2 separate regions of the Homo sapiens genome follow, and region 1 is linked to region 2. Evidence: promoter capture Hi-C in 16 types of primary human blood cells and fetal thymus (Javierre and others, 2016). All regions are on one chromosome and are shown on one strand. Each heading gives the region's core, a stretch centred on a gene start or on the middle of the fragment in contact. The rest is flanking DNA. Distances are from core to core; before and after follow the strand shown.

The links. Contacts are between HindIII fragments. The CHiCAGO score rates a contact against its expected background, and 5 or more counts as called.
Region 1: a fragment that was not itself captured here is called in contact with the fragment with the promoter of ERICH3 in region 2 in 1 of 17 cell types (naive B cells); the score reaches 6.7 in naive B cells.

Annotation. Positions count from the first base shown.
Region 1 is chr1:72,623,630-72,627,609 of GRCh38, reverse strand. All of the region lies in intron 3 of LOC105378797 (a long non-coding RNA gene), which reads right to left. Among named protein-coding and RNA genes, the nearest start is that of LINC02796, 140 kb to the left of the region's middle. The HindIII fragment of the contact is 4,282 bases long and covers 1-3,540 here.
Region 2 is chr1:74,671,572-74,675,358 of GRCh38, reverse strand. ERICH3 (glutamate rich 3) reads left to right here and starts at 1,567. Exons shown (of 15, transcript NM_001002912.5): 1 at 1,567-1,862. The coding sequence starts at 1,840. The HindIII fragment of the contact is 21,395 bases long and covers 1-3,787 here.

The DNA.
Region 1 (3,980 bases), core at 150-2,649, 2.0 Mb after region 2:
TTTTAAGATTTTATTAACTACAGAATGAGGGTTTATATAAGATCCACTAGAATATAGACAAATGAAAATGTTTTACAATAGGTCAAAACGGAAGCAAAATTTCACCTTCCCATGTTAATCCAAGGTCAAGAATAGGTGAAAACATTAAACTTCACCTAACTTATAAATTCCCATTAAAATAATTCTCATTAAAAGTAAAAAGAAGTTGGTTTGACAGTTTTAATCATTAATAAATTAACCAAACACTTTAGTATCATGTTAATATATAGCAACAACTACTCAAATATTAATAGGTTTTGAGCTGACAACCTTGGAGTATTTCATTTTTGCTAATAATGGTAAATAGTATTTTTGTGCTATTGTAAAGAACTGGCAGGTAGGAATCATATCTTTGTACATATTAAAATATCAATAATTAGGTTTCTGTTTTTATTTAGTCACTACTTCATTTTAGTCCACTGAGCTGAAATTACTTGCATAGGGGTTACCGAGGTCTGACAGCTATGTTGGGGAGCACCTACAGTCAAGAAAAAGAACCTAATAGAACTTTCTTGTGAGGGCTGCCAATGAATTTTTTTCTGAGGATGATACGCTTTCTTTCTCTTTTCCTTTTTTTTTTTTGTTTTTGAGACCGAGTCTCATTCTGTTGCCAGCCTGGGCTGGAGTACAATGGCGCGATCTTGGCTCACTGCAATCTCTGCCTCCCGGGTTCAAGAGATTCTCCTGCCTCAGCCTCCAGAGTAGCTGGGATTACAGGTGTCTGCCACCATGTCCGGCTAATTTTTGTATTTTTAGTAGACACGAGGTTTCACCATGTTGGCCAGGCTGGTCTCGAACTCTGACCTCAGGTGATCCACCCGCCTTGGCTTCCCAAAGTGCTAGGATTACAGGTCTGAGCCATCGCGCCTGGCCAATACACTTTCTATATAATGTACTCTTTTCTCATTTTTTTTTTTTTTGCTGTGAGTACGCTGCACATTTTCTTTCACATAAAATGAATCACGCATTCATGAAAGCCAAAAACAGGTGCACCTTTCTATCCTACAGCTAACTTACAGTTTTTAATTACTTTGCAACCCTTGAACATATTCTTTTTTGGAAATATGTGACTGGATCTTTCTGACATTAACAACTGGCAGGAAAATAAATTCAGGTTTTTCTTTATTCCCTGTATTTGCCTATATTAAACAAGGAAATAAAGCAAGTAAAATAATGTGAAAAGCAGAAGCACACTCACAAAGATTTACCATATCTCTGATGGCTTATTACTTTATATTAAACCATAAAGACCTTAGGAAAATGTATTTTATGTGTCTTTTAGTGCAATCACATTCATTGCCAAAATTAATGCTCTTGCACCAGACTGCCTGGGTTCAAATCTTGCCTCTATTATTTATTATCTGTGTCTACTGGAGCAAATTACTTCCTTTCTTTGATCCTTTAGACTTCTGAGTTTATAACATGGGAATAATAATATCTATCTAGTAGAGTTTTGTGATGTGTACATGAATACAAAAATATTGTTAGATCTGTTTCTGATACATAGCATATTTTCAATAAATATGAACAACTATTATTATGTGACTTGGATCTCTCAAACAGATTGGAAGCTACTTTATGACAGTGGTAAGGAATATATCTATTACTAGTCTGGTACTCTTGGTATCTCCCAAAGACACTAAATATTTCATGACAACAATGGTATTGGCAACAGTAACGACATTGTTACTTGGTCATACATATATTAATAATAATCATCTTAAATATAAATAGAAGTGTTAGTCAAACTTTGAAGCCTTGAATGACATGATTAATGCATTTAGTTGGGGAAAATGAACAGTGAATGCACACAAAATGAAATGATAAGAAGTGAAAAAATAAGGAAACAGAAATGAGAAAGATATTTAAAAAGGGAAAGAAAGACCAATAGTAGAAAATGGCTGGTATTTTTCTCATTGATGCCTCCCCAGCTCAGAATAACCAAGAATAAATACAAATTATCCAGTCAGACACACAGGAATGAATTATAAATAGTACAGTGATATTCATCCTGAAATATCTGTTTCCTGAAAGAAGTAGTTGCATTTGACTCTTATTACATATAAGTTCATGACTTTGAAAAAAAGCTAACTGTTTTTCTATAGTTGTGTTTGTTGTGTTAACATTAATTTTTAAAAACCTTCTTAGGGAACAGTGGGTCAAATACTAAAGAAATTTGAAAGCTCTATCTTTAATTTGTCCCATTCATCTTTAAGTAATTTTAAGAAGTCTCAACCTAGTAATTTTTTGTTTGAATAAATCCATGGTGGAAATAGATGAACTGTTTTCATGCCTAAAGTATTCAATATCATTACCATTCAAAATATTTTTGAGCGCCTACCATATCAGAGCCATATTAGAAGTGAGAGTGGTATAAAGAGACATGATACAGTCCTATCAATAAGGGGATAATACAGATTGTACCTGGAATGTAATAAATAACACAGATCAGCAAATGCTAGGTATGAATGATAAAAACTGAACTTTTTATAAGAGTTCTACAAGCAGAGTAGAAGCAATACTGTTGTTACTGCTGAAAGTTTTCTTTAGAAAGGCTTTTCAACAAGTATATACCTTTCATCAAGTATATTTGTTTCTGTCACAACAGTATTACCAGTCTACAAATGGGAAGTGATGGAATCAAATGATTATGAGAAGTAAACTATAAATGTTTATGATTTCTGCTCTGCTCAGGTGATGAATCAGCACAGTAATATTTTCAGCCCTGAGTTTTAGCCCAGGTTTTGCAGCTAAGCTAAAGCAGTTTCCAATACAATTTTATAGCAATATAGAATTTCTTTCAAATAACAGTGACTATCCTCCAAAGTTAATCTAAAATGTTCAGCCAGTTTACCTCTTGTTGAGACAAAAGCAGTTGCATACACTTTTGAGGATATAGGCTTCAATACTGTTCCTTAATGAAAGTGAAATTATCCAGGAACATCTAACGTGATGTGACATGGTTGATATGAGTATATTTAGGAGACATATGAAGAAAACGAGGGGGTTACGATCTCTAGAAAGAAAGAAAATATGTGTCTCAAGCTATATATTTGCCATATAAAACAATCCCACACTTAGATTTCAAGCAAAATATTACACAATACCAGAGTAGGAAATACAAATGTTATAATGCTACCTTTATATTTTCTAAAATCCCAAATTGCTAAGAAAAACAATGAATACCAAAGATTTTGCAATAATCTTACAAATATAAGCAAATCATGGTCATCACCAGGAAATTAGATGCAATCAAACGATATGTCAATTGTGGTTCTTTTTTCTCATCATGACTTAGTCCTCAAATCAAATTTCATGAATAACTCGGGAGTCTGATTTAATACAATCATGAATTCTAACATTGAGGACATTAAAGTATGTCTGTTGTCTAGCCCGTGCTTTACCCAGACTAATAAAACAAGGGTGCTTAGCCATCTTTACTCATACTTTCTTGTTGTTTTTCAGTAGACTGCTTTATGTGCCATATTAGAAACAAAAGCTTGAAAAATGTCAAACCATTTCTTTCCTTGCATGGAAGTAGAAACATCAGATATATTTGAACTAAATAAAATAGTTTCATTTTGCTTAGACTTCCTTTGGTAACTAATTCAACTATAAATAGATTAAAAGTAACATAAAAATTTGAATAAAGTAGAAATAAATATATAGTTATTACATTAACTAGGGTGCAGGTAGAATACAAAAACCATCCCAGTGAATGTAAGAAATATAATTTAATACAAATAATTATTAACTAGAGATTGAAGAATTCAGAAGACAAATTGGGAACAACACCACGGGGTCAGTGAGGTAACATCTGCAGGGAGCAGCACTAGCCATGGAAGAGTTCTAAATTACTAGAACTTAGTGACTTGGAGCAGGGCTTCTCTGGAGCTGAAATTCAGACCTCTGACTGGCGTTGCTAAGATCAGAGGAGGTGC
Region 2 (3,787 bases), core at 318-2,817:
AATTTATAGGGGCCACGGAAAAGTAAATCAACTTGTAATTGTTAAAGGCATTTGTAGGCTGAAATCAGATAGATCTGGATTTGAATCCTAGTTTTTCCCATTGGAAGCCACTGTAGATGTCAGAAAAAATAACTAATTTCTTTATGTATTAGTTTTGATAGCTATGAAATGGAGAAAAAAACCTGTCTCATAAAATGAAGATGAGGATTAAATGAGATAGTAAATGCTCAATAAAAGGCTGAGGAGAGCATTTAGTAACAACTCGTTACAAATGCCACCACTCAAGAGTTTCCTTTTTTCCCTTCACTCATGCTGCAAACATTTATTAAACTGTTGCTTCCTTCTGAGAATATAGAAAAATGGAATAGATGTACAAAATGAAATGGAGGAGCTTGCATTTGAGTAGAAAAGGCAGCATCTACTTCAGCAAGTGTTATACAGGGGGTAAGCACAAAACAGGCATATCCCAGCCGAGTGGCCCCCTGAGGCCAGAGTCATTAGCACACCTGAGGATGTCAAAGAGGAAGTGTTTAAGCTAAGTGTTACAGGATGAATAGAAGTTTTCCAAGTAGTCAAGGGTGAAAGTATGTTTCCACTAGAGGGATAGCGCAAGAGTTTGGTTTTGCTAGAGTTTAAGGTAGTGGAGAAAGTGGTCACACAGGCTCGGGAAAGACACTGGGGCCAGGTGATGAGGGCCCCTGAATGTCACACTAAGGAGTTTGAACTCTGTCATACTCAGTGGGTCTTTACCACGTGAGGAAAAGCAGAATGACGTTAATGAGGTGATGCTCTTCCCACCTCTAAATGTGGCTGACCCAGAATAGAGACCCTAGAAAGCTCAGTCACCACTGATGCGTCCAACCCTTCACTTATACATGAGGAACCTGAGGCCAGAGATCAAGTCATTCTGCAAAACACCTGACCAAGCATGAACAAAACAAGAATAGGTTATCTAAGTCTAGTGCTTAAACTTCCTCCACATTCAGATCCTCCTTTAAATCCAGGCTGCTTCATCTAAGCCCTGCATTCCATGTACTGGATTCCAATGTAAGTACTGTTTCTGGGTGCTTTACTGAATAACTGCGTCTCCCCCATCTTCTGAAAGCCAGCTCTGTCAGCCCTGCCCACTGGAAGTGGGGACCTCAGCTAGGAAGAAGGATAGGGGTTTTCCAAGGAGAAAATGAGTCGATTGTAATGCCTTACAGATGCAGAAACAAATTCAAAACCCAAAACAGATTGAGAGACGTCCTTCTTTCCCTCAAATTTGCAATCGCTGTTTTAGCACTGGAAACCACCGCATCACGCAGTAGCTGCTCCCTGCTCTTATTACCCTCAGCCGCTACCCAGTCCTTCCTTCCCCAGGGCCTAGCAGGAAGCACGCCAGCCAAAATGTGTGGGTGTGCCTGTGTGTGTGCACGAGTGTGTTTGTGTTTTCATGTTACAGATACCTGGGGAACTCGCGCCCTAGAGCAACAGAGCAGGGGCTTGCTTGGGTCTCCTCCCTATCAGGGCCCAGAAAAAGGGGTAGAAGCTGGCTTCACTTCCAGCTTCCGCAGGCTCGGTTCCAGTAGCGCCTCCGCTTCTCCAGACCCTGGGCGCTTGCCTCTCTCCTCCCTTAGCAACAGGGAAGCTGTGGATACCAACGGAGGGTGGGAGCCCGGGAGGCTGCGGGTAGCCCGGGCGCCCAGGGGCGGCGGCGGCCCAGCCCAGGTGCCCGCGCACAGGGGACCTCGGTGCGGAGCCACCCCTCGAGCGCGACTGTCGCAGCGCCAGCGCGCACGGGGCCCCACGCACCCACCCTCCGCACCTGCCGCGGGGTCCAAAAGGGATCCTGCAAAAATGAGCCATTCTCACCCCGCTGGGTAAGTGACAACTGGAGCTTTTCCACGCTGTGGCAGGTGGCGGCTTCAGCCAGCTGCCCCTCCTCCTCCCTCCTGCTGCGGAGGGAAGGGGCGAGAGGGGAGCGAGGGGGAGGGCTGGGGAGAGGAAAATATATACGAATTCTGGGTTGCAGCGAGGATGGCAGAAATCCCAGGCATCATGTCTCCTCCCTCCCCTTCTTCGTTTCTTTCACCCACGTTCGCCCCTTTTGAAATTTTCACCCTGGAAGGATTAAAAAATGGAAGTGAAAAACGCATACATTAAGCAAGGACCTTCGCTGGGATCAAGAAGATCCTGTGGTGTGGAACATGTGTGTTTAGATGCAAAAGAAGAGGTTACCAAAATAAGAATTCGTTTGGAGATTTGAGAATGAGAGATGCATTCTCACCTTAGCTTACATATAAGCGAGGTGTGAGTTCATTCAGTATTGAAAGATGTTTCATTGGGAAAAGGGGGTATTATTTCAGGGATTTTTTTCTGCCCAATCTCAAAAGGACCATAAGGGTCTTTAAAAAGTATTTTAATAAAGGAAGGTTATATGGCACAGGAAAAGAGAGGGAGGAGTTGTGTGCCTGTGTATTTACTCATGATCTTCAGTTGCTTTAGGTAGGTGAACCCCTTAGATAACCTATTTTGGCAATTTTCAATGTATTCTAGAAAGAACACCGTCATTATTGGCTGTTGCAAAAAAAAAAAGTTTCTTTTTTTATTGGAAGGGAGAATATCCAATTTCCTCCTGAATTAAACAATGTAATGCATATTAGACGATTTTTTATTATGATACATCTAGTAAGAAGATAAATATCCTAGTCAATCTTGCAATTAAATTGAAGGCACTTTCCTTTTTAATTGCATTTATTGCACATTTTTAGGAGCAGCAAATTAGCAGAGGACAACATATTTGAGATCATTTGGAGTTTGTGATGTTTGAAGTACCACATTAGTCGTTGTGTTGGAACTTATACCCAAACTTCAAGATTTTACTTTTTAATGAATTCTCTGAGTGTAATGGCGTAAATGAAAATGTTTGAAAAAACTAAAGCCATATAAGGTGCCACGTTGGAAATCAGTTTCAGAACTTTTAGAAAAGTGATATAGCTATGATTACATAAACTTTTTGTTTTATCTCAAGTTGAATTTAATTTAGGTACTTTTTAACATTTTGATGCTGAACTCCTGTGCAATTTTTAGTTATCTGTGGGTCATGTAAGATGCTACGTAAGATGCAAATAGCACTATTTTTCAGCAGCTGATGTTTGCAGTATGTTTGCATTTGGGAAAATAAATATGTCAGTCATGGTTGTCTTCCTATGTTTTTCAAGTTTTTGGCTAGTTAGAATCTGATTAGACCATTTAATAATCTATTTTAAAATGTGAGAAAAATGTAGCTATTGATTAAACTGTGCATGATTAAGATTTCAGAAACTGAAGTCAAATTTTTCTGAAGTTCCATTAGTTCCAAGCCTATGGGGAAAAGGGAAATTTGTGATTTAATGCAAGAGTATGTTTCATGGTACTCTTCAGGAAAGGTGTTAAGATGGCAACAAATACTTTGCACTTAAATGGTAAGCTCCTGAAAAGTAGGCACCATATTGTATTAATTTCTCTGATCCCTTCACTTAGGACAGTGTTCAGAACAAAATAAAACTCAACAAATGTGTGCTGAATAAATGGTATTGCCGGATGGTGCATCCAATCTAGAGATGCATGTATTCGGAAATGAAAATTGTGTTAGAACTAAATATTTATTATGTGCATACGATGTGCCAGGCTCCATTCTAGTGTTTTATATGAACTACCTTATTAAATCTTCCCACTCATGCTGGTTTTTAGTTACCCTCATTTTTACAGATAAGGAATTTGAGGACTTATTGGGGGAACCCGCCCCCAATATTTCAACATAGAT